Linked DNA regions of Homo sapiens: regions 1 and 3 are each linked to region 2. The links are contacts of gene promoters, found by promoter capture Hi-C in blood cells and fetal thymus (Javierre and others, 2016). All regions are on one chromosome and are shown on one strand. The core of a region is centred on a gene start or on the middle of the fragment in contact, and the rest is flanking DNA. Distances in the headings are between cores, read along the strand shown.

Region 1 (2,700 bases), core at 155-2,654, 72 kb before region 2:
GGCGGGAGCAGATGTGCCACTGGTTGGAAGGCCACCTGTCCTTTCAGTCACCCTCTGCACTGGAGGGGAGTCTGCCCTTGATTTTCCTCCTCCAGGCCCTCGGGTGGGAGGACCTCTGCAGCCTGCAGCTCCCCCCATGCTGTGTCCTGTGTTTCCACAGGACCTTCTCTCACCTCTGCAAACAGCCACCTTTTTAAACCATTGCTGAATTCTCCGAGTTTATGGGTACCATCGGATGGATTCCTGGTGAGATGTTGCCTGGGATTCCTGGATCCCATCAGCTTCCAGCTGGATGTTTAAGTCCAGGCCAACCCTGTCCCTGCCTGCTTCCTGCCCCGCCACCCCCCCCCCCCCCACAGTGTCCATGGCAGCCTTCACCTCTGTCTTCAGGCCACAGCTGAATCTTCATCTTCTTTATTCTCAGACACCTCCCAACCTCCGACCCCAGCTTTAGGGGTGCACAAGCATTGGGGCAGCTTGACCACCCCAGCCGCTGATGAGTTTAGCCCACTCTCTGCTCAGTTTGTTTTAAAAAGGATTAGAGGCGAGGTGCGGTGGCTCATGCCTGTAATCCCAGCACTTTGGGAGGCTAAGGCAGGTGGATTTCCTGAGGTCAGGAGTTCATGACCAGCCTTGGCCAACATGGTGAAACCCTGTCTCTACTAAAAATATAAAAAATTAGCTGGGCATGGTGGTGCACACCTGTAATCCCAGCTACTACGGAGGCTGAGGCAGGAGAATCACTTGAACCCGGGAGGCAGAGGTTGCAGTGAGCTGAGGTCGCACCACTGCACTCTAGACTGGGCAACAAGAGCAAAACTCCATCTCAAAAATAACAAAATAAAAAATAAAATAAAAATAAAAAAGATTAGACACCTCCCACACTCAGTCACCACCTACCACTGGCTTCGGAATCCCCCGTATTCCACCTTCTGGCTCACTAAGGAAAGTCTCCTCACTAAGATGACCAGTGGCTTCCAAATTGCCAGGTCATACCCACGTTTCAGATCTTATCTCATGAGGCTTTTGGACCTTTTGATCAGTCCTTCAAATAATTTTTCATAACCCAAGTCGTTTTGGTAAATGTTGAAGAAAATGCTGAAATAAAGGTAAGCCAAAAAAAAAAAAATTTATGGTCCTACTACCTAGAGACAACCACTATTAACATTTTACTGTTAGCCTTCCGGACTCTTCTGTGCTTACATATTAAATGGATGTTAACGAATTAATAATACATAACATGTAGCAACCACCTTTAAAATATGATCATCTTGCCTTATTAAAAATATGAAGACATTCATTTTAGTGGCTGCATTGGGTTGCAGGGCGTGGACTTGCCTACCTTTGGGAATGTTGATTGTTGCCCATTTTCCTTGTTGGAGAACAATCTTGTGATGAATGAACTCCTTAGTACTTCATATCTATTCACTCTCATTGTTTTCTTAGAAAAAATTGCTAGAAGTTAAAGCCCCACTGCCAGCTGTCAGCCCCCACACATCCCCTTTCTGCATGGTTGTTTCCTAGGAGTATACCCTTTTCCTAAGTGCAGAAAAGGACGGAGGAAGAGCTGCGACGTGGTTGCAGGTGTCAGACTCCCCCATGAAGGAGGGAAATCTGTCTGCCTGCCTGGGCGCTAGGACTGGAGACAGGTGCCAGGGAGGGTGGCAGCGCTTCTCTGCCTGGAAAACAAAGTGGAAGCCTGAGCTGGTATCTCTCCGGCATACTCCTCCCTCCGGGCCATCACTGCGTCCTCCTGCGTCCGGCATTATGTTCCCTCTGCAGGCCTTTGCTGCTGGTGCGGTGAGACTTTACTTAAGGGGTAGCATTTTAGTAAGAAGTCTGACAAGCAAGGCTATTGACATCTTGAATGTGAAGTGAAGTCCGTGCTTTCCTGCTTCCTGAGATTCCTCTGGCCCCGTGGCTTCAGTGAAACCACACCTTCCTGTTTCCCTCTGAGCCCTTCCTCCTCATCTTTCCGTCTCCTTCTTAGGCTCCTCTTCTTCCACACAGCCCCTAAATTCCAACAATCACCAGGCTTTCCCCCAGAAATCACTCTGCTTACGCTCCCCACTCGCTGTGCCTGTATGGTGGGGTGGGGTCCAACCCACTCAAATTATTAGCCACTAAGACACCCTTGACCCCTTCTTCTCTCAGACTCGAAATTCATCTGCCCAACTGCCTGCTAAGCACCACCTGTGTAATTTATGGATCTCAAAGTTGTTGGGCTCAAAGCGGATTTCACCTCCCTGCCCCTCACTCAGGGCTCCCCTGAGCTGTCTGTGTCAGGGGATACACTGCTGTCCACCCAGCACATAATCCACAAACCCAGCCGTTCCCGTGTGTTCTTCTCCCTCACGCCTCCCACCTGGCCAACCACCACCCATCATCAACTTCACCCTGGAGGAATCTGTCCAATGGGCAACTACTTCATCATCACTGCCCTGGCTAATGCAGGCCCTGGCCATCTGCCACCAGGAAAACGTACCAGCTGGCCTCCCTGCCTCCCACCACCCTTTTCCGACCCAAATGCAACCTCGCAGCACAGTGTGGTAAGTATTTCTATATCTGGATACTGGATACCATACCCTATGCTACTCCTCCACCAAGACTTTCCAATGCTCTTACTGCATACGGGATACAGCAGACAGCCCTGCAGGATGTGCTTCCCGACCACCTTGCCTGCTTTAGCTTTCACTCCTT
Region 2 (2,700 bases), core at 61-2,560:
CCGCACTCCGGGCACCCCGCCCCGATCCCCTGCGCCAGTGACCACGAGGCCCCGGAGTCTTTGAGGCTGCGAAGCGCGCGCGTGCCGTGTCAGGGTCGTCCGGGCCCCCGGAAGAAGGCACCTTCGCGGCCGGCCCGGGCGCATCCCCTGGGCGGGCACAGCCGTCCGCCTTCCGAGCTCGGCCCCCGCGAAGGCTCCTACCCGCCTGCTCTCCTGTAACGCACCCGCAGCCCAAAGGCTCCCGACACGCGCCGCTCGTCTTGCACCCTCTCTCCCCACCCAGCCGCCACCCCTCCTGGCCCTCCTTCCGCACTCACTCGCAGCTCTCGCTTGCCTTCGCTCACTCCCAACCCGCTTCTCGCCCCTTCCCCGCGACTCTGTCAGTTTCCACTCCCCTGGCGGCCTCCACGCGCGGAGGACCTCGCCTGCGGCCGGGCGTTCCAGGGGCGCAGCCCCGGGTTCCTCCACCCTCCGCTTTCTCTGCTCGCATCCAGACCCTTCGCCCCGAATAGGACCCCTATCCCTGCCCAGCTAGCGCGCACTAAGTGGGCTCTGCAAACGACAAGTGGCGCAGACGCGGGGGCTGCAGCCCCAGTACGGGGGATTCCGCGCGCAGAGCGTCCGCCGGACCCCGGAGCAGGCCCGGGAGAGCGGAGGCGGGGAGGGCGCGGGAGAGGGCGACGACAGCTGCGGAGCCTGGGAGGCAGGGACCGCGCCAGGCCGGCTAGGCCACCGCACGCAAGGCTCGGAGCGACCCAAATGTGGAGCTCCTCCTCCTCCTGCGCCAGCGGGTGAGCACCGCGCCGGAGGCCGCCGTGAGCTTGGGCCCCTTAGGAACGAAGAGCAGGGGAAGGAGCCTCGGATTGGGGTCCACAGGGCCGGGCCTGTTTCTCGCAGGCAGTTGTGCCGTCTTGTGTGGGTGCCTTGGACGGCCCCGCCTCAGCCACTCCTGGGGCCCCGACAGTCCGGTTAGCTCATCCCGTCCAGCTTGTGGCGACCCCGTCGCAGGAGCGCGGAGGGCAGGCGGGGAGGCTCGGGCAGAGCCAAGGAGGCGGGCCTTGGAGCCCAAACCAGCGCCTCCGGCTCAGCGCAGATGGGGTGGGAGTCGGAGCTCCAGGACGGGGCGCGCTCCCTTCCCGCTCCGAAGCCGGGGTACCCTGCGCTGCCCTGGAGGTCGAACCTCTGGTTCGCGCTCCGGGTCCTCTCTGGTATCAGCCTCACACCCCTCCTCCTGCCCGACTCCAGCCCTTACCTCGCCCTGGACTCGGAGCTGAGGGCAGCGGTGGGTCCCAAGATCGAGCGGTGAAACTGAGAGTGCGAGGTGGGAAAGAGGAACTTTATAGAACTCTCTGGGGCGGGGCCTGGGGCGGGGCGGGGCGCCGAGGCCTGTGGGGGCCGGGGGTTGGACTGGGGAGAGGGACTTTGCAAGCCGAGAGCCGGGGCCGGCCGGGCGGGCGAGCCTCAGGGCCGGCGTGAAGGCTGGGGGCTGCCGCGGCCGGGGTGGGGTTCCCGCGCCCTTGGCGACCCTCCGCGCGCCGCGCCCGGAGAGCGCACCTCCAGCCGGGCGCGCGCCGCTTCGGGGACTGTCACTGGGGCCGTTTCCCGCGAAGGGCGAGGTGCGAAATGCGAATCTCGCCTTTGCGCCAGGACCTCAGGAGGCCAGTCAATCACTAAACTGCAGCGATGTGGCCAGGGCGGGAAATGGGGGGCGTGTAGTAGCGGGAATCTGGTGCGAAGGGGACTTCGCTTTGCAGAGCGTGTAACGGAAGACGGAGGAATGGTCCAAAGAGAACTGGAGGTGGAGGTTGCGGGAGCACCCTCGGCAAGGCCATCACCGGGAACCCTGCCTCTCCGCGGTGTTTAGAGAACATCGCACTCACTAAAAAGAAAATAGGAAATGGCCCAGCTCCCTTGAGCTATTAAGCTTGATTCAAATACTGTCTCTGCGTGTCTGACATGCTTACATCCTTTTGCATCTATTAGGCTGGTGAATTGAAGTGACTCAGACAATGCCCCGGCCCCGAAGTTTTAATTATCTTAGCATGAAAGAGATGGGGGCGGGGAGAGGCTCCCTAAGGATCCAAGTGCTTAATCACTTCCAGACTTCAGTTCACCTTAAAATGATGTCGTTTTAACCTCAACCTGGAGGAAAGCAGTTTACCAGTGGGGTATAAAAGCCCAAAATAGGCCAGGCGCTGTGGCTCAAGCCTGTAATCCCAGCACTTTGGGAGGCCGAGGCGGTGGATCGCCTGAGGTCAGGAGTTCGAGACCAGCCTGGCCAACACGGTGAAACCCCATCTCTACTAAAAATACAAAAATTAGCCGGGCGTGGCCCCAGCTACTTGAGAGGACGAGCCACGAGAATCGCTTGAACCCGGGAGGCTGAAGTTGCAGTGAGCCGAGGTGGGCGACAGAGCAAGACTCCATCTCAAAATAAATAAATAAAAGCCCAAAATAGGAATAATACTTAAGTGGACCAGGGATTTTACATACTTTTCCAAGATGTCCTTAATCGCAAAATTAACCCCCTGAGCTTTCACCCGTTGAGCTTTCGATCGTCTGAGATGCTGAGTATGTGCATTTACTTCGCATTTTCAGGTAAACCATCAGATCTCTGGTTTCTATATGATTTTAGACCACCACCACCGTAGGTCAACCTGCAACTTTTGAAAAGCTTTTGATTTCACTTATTTCTCAGTT
Region 3 (2,700 bases), core at 96-2,595, 110 kb after region 2:
AGCTCTTCCCTAGTGCAGAGCTTTGCACTGCTTTCATTTGTTTTTGTTATTCACTCTTTCATGCAAAACTGAAATTGAACTGGATCTGAAGACACTGAAAAATGTCTGGGTAGGGGGCTGCAGGGAGCAGGGGTTTTCCTGAGAGAATGGAATGTCCCATGAGAAATTTCACTTACCATGAGAGGGGAAGTCCATTTCGTATGACATGATATAACACTGTCATTATAAACTCTCCGTTGGTTTCACATGTGTTAATATTTATCATTCTTTTGATTAGTTATTCATCAAGAAAACCCTGTGAATTCTGAAAAAATCATCATGTATCAAGGGTTCCTCAGGCTAGATGATGGACCCAGGATCATTTTCTCTATTCTTTGCAACAGAGAGCTTGCTTTTTATTTTTATTTATTTATTTTTTTAACCAAACACCACTTGGTCTGCAGGTGAGGAGCTGTCCTTGCCCACATGAGACAATCTCATCTGAAGCAACAACCTGGTACCAGGATATCATGTTTACTCATGAGAATACCGTCGACCATTGACCTTCAAGTGAAGGTTGATCTGTACTTTTTTTTTTTTTTAAGACAGAGTCTCACTCTGTCCCCAAGGCTGGAATGAAGTGGTGCGATCTTGGCTCACTGCAACCTCTGCCTCCTGGGTTCAAGCGATTCTTGTGCCTCAGTCTCCCCAGTAGCTGGGATTACAAGGGCATGCCAACACTCCCTGCTAATTTTTTATATTTTTAGTAGAGACAGGGTTTCACCATGTTGCCTAGGCTGGTCTTGAACTCCTGAGCTCAGGCAATCCACCCACCTCGGCCTCCCAAAGTGCTGAGATTACAGGTGTGAGCCACCGTGCCTGGTCTGACCTGTGCTTTTCACCTTCTCTGCACACCTGTGTGCCCTTTCTACATGGGGCCTCAACTCCAGACCCCGCAAACAACAACTAACATGAGGACAACTGCTGGGAAGAGGCTGAAGCAATTGCAGCATGATCACACAAGGTTGGGATAGATTTCTTTCTCATCTCTCATACACACCCCTTGCAAAAAAATAGGTGGGCAGAAAAGTCTGGGGCTAAGCTTGCCCTGTTTCATCAATGTACAGTTTGCATTACTGAACAGACTAGAACAATGTGTCAATGTAAAAACATTTATATCTGGCTTAAATGACAACAGTTTATCTGCCCTCCCTCCCCAAAATACAAAGCAGTACCTATCTTACCTCTGATGTAATTAAAGTGTCCATGATGGTAACTTTTCCCAAGCAAAGCCACAGTCTGTCTTAAAGGTGAGATGAGATCTTTATCTCTACAGACAGAAAATGTTGTAACTTTTAAATGGCAGTTCACCTCCTGCTTGTTGAGGTTTACAGGGCAGCTTAACAGGTGGGTAGGTGCAGTGGATGGGCAGAGAGATAACTGATATATAAGACAGAGAGATATGTGGACATATTTTCTTACTGTAGTGCTTTTAAAAATATGTACAATTTAAAATAAACTTTTGCTTTCAAAATTTCACTATTTTTGTTGCAGTGATAACCACCAAGCCAAAGGGACAGGAAGCTCTCGGCATTGTTGGTGTTTTACTCAAGCCATGGTATGAAGCTTCTTTTTGGTCTAAAAGTATGTGTTTTTAGTAATAGCAACTCTAGAACTTCAGAGGCAGTGTAAGTGTTGGTTCTAATTGGTAACGTTACATATCTGAGGATCACAGGGCTGCGGAAGTTAAGACATCTAATCGAGTGCTCGCAGAACAGCTCCTTTGAAACAGAACATGCTTTCCTCTAGTTGTGGATTAAGTGCAACCCTTTCACAGACTTAACAATAATAATCCCTTGGCCTTCTTTTTCTGTTTTCTTAAATATATGGTTTTAGTTGTATCGGTTAGTTTCTATTTAATTTGGTAGAATTTTTTATTTCTAAAATGTTTAGTCACCACATTAAAAGGGGGCACAATCTTCTATTTGGTATAAAAGCCTCTGTGCTACGGTTTGCCCAGGATTTTCCTGATTTTGACACTGAAAGTTCTGTGTCCCAGGAACCCCTTTAGTCACGAGCAATGTGGGGCAGTTGGTTACCCTCAACTGTGGTATATTTTGGTGAAATATACTTTAGCTTTAATGAGAAAAAGACAATTATCATTTAAACACCATCCTCTTTAGGTACAAATAATTCCCTGTGTGAGATGTTGAAGGAGAGCAGCTGCCTCCCATTGCTGGGCAGGGCCAGGCACACTCAGCTGCTTGGAACACATGGCAGGAACGAATTTCTGCTCAAGGCTTGGATCAGGCAATTGATGCTTTCTGGAAGGGAAATAATGGCTGAGGAAACGTCGATGTCAATATTTCTTCATGGAGAAAAACACATTTTGATCTTTCTTCATGGAGAAAAACACATTTTGATCTTTTCCTCAAACAAGTCAATAAGGTATCAGGTTCTATTTGAATCTTTTCCCTGGAAAACATCTTACAATTATGAGAGTCTAATAACTTTTTCTTGTAACATTAAATTGAGGCAATTCCAATGCTTCAAACAGTATTTATTTAAAAGGAGATGGACAACCTCCTAAAAGTTGTTAGATTTTCATGAAATGGAGAGACTGAGTGCATCAATGAGTTGGTAATTAATCACTTTTAATTTCCCCTCTTAAGTCTCCTCCTCCATACTGTCCCTCAGCCCAGGTAGCTCTCCAGGTAACAG

The links. The method cuts DNA at HindIII sites, captures the fragments that hold promoters and counts their contacts. A CHiCAGO score of 5 or more calls a contact.
Region 1: a contact is called between a fragment that was not itself captured here and the fragment with the promoter of IRF4 in region 2, in 1 of 17 cell types (activated CD4 T cells). The highest score is 5.7, in activated CD4 T cells.
Region 3: a contact is called between a fragment that was not itself captured here and the fragment with the promoter of IRF4 in region 2, in 4 of 17 cell types (total B cells, naive B cells, activated CD4 T cells and 1 more). The highest score is 10.6, in total B cells.

What each region holds. Positions count from the first base shown.
Region 1 is chr6:462,937-465,636 of GRCh38, reverse strand. No RefSeq gene overlaps it. Among named protein-coding and RNA genes, the nearest start is that of IRF4, 73 kb to the right of the region's middle. The HindIII fragment of the contact is 3,475 bases long and covers 1-2,700 here.
Region 2 is chr6:390,362-393,061 of GRCh38, reverse strand. It overlaps IRF4 (interferon regulatory factor 4), which reads right to left and starts at 1,310. Exons shown (of 9, transcript NM_002460.4): 1 at 1,253-1,310. RefSeq lists silencers at 154-263, 374-423, 594-643, 924-993, 1,234-1,623. The HindIII fragment of the contact is 5,232 bases long and covers 1-1,926 here.
Region 3 is chr6:284,218-286,917 of GRCh38, reverse strand. No RefSeq gene overlaps it. Among named protein-coding and RNA genes, the nearest start is that of DUSP22, 6.9 kb to the left of the region's middle. The HindIII fragment of the contact is 524 bases long and covers 1,084-1,607 here.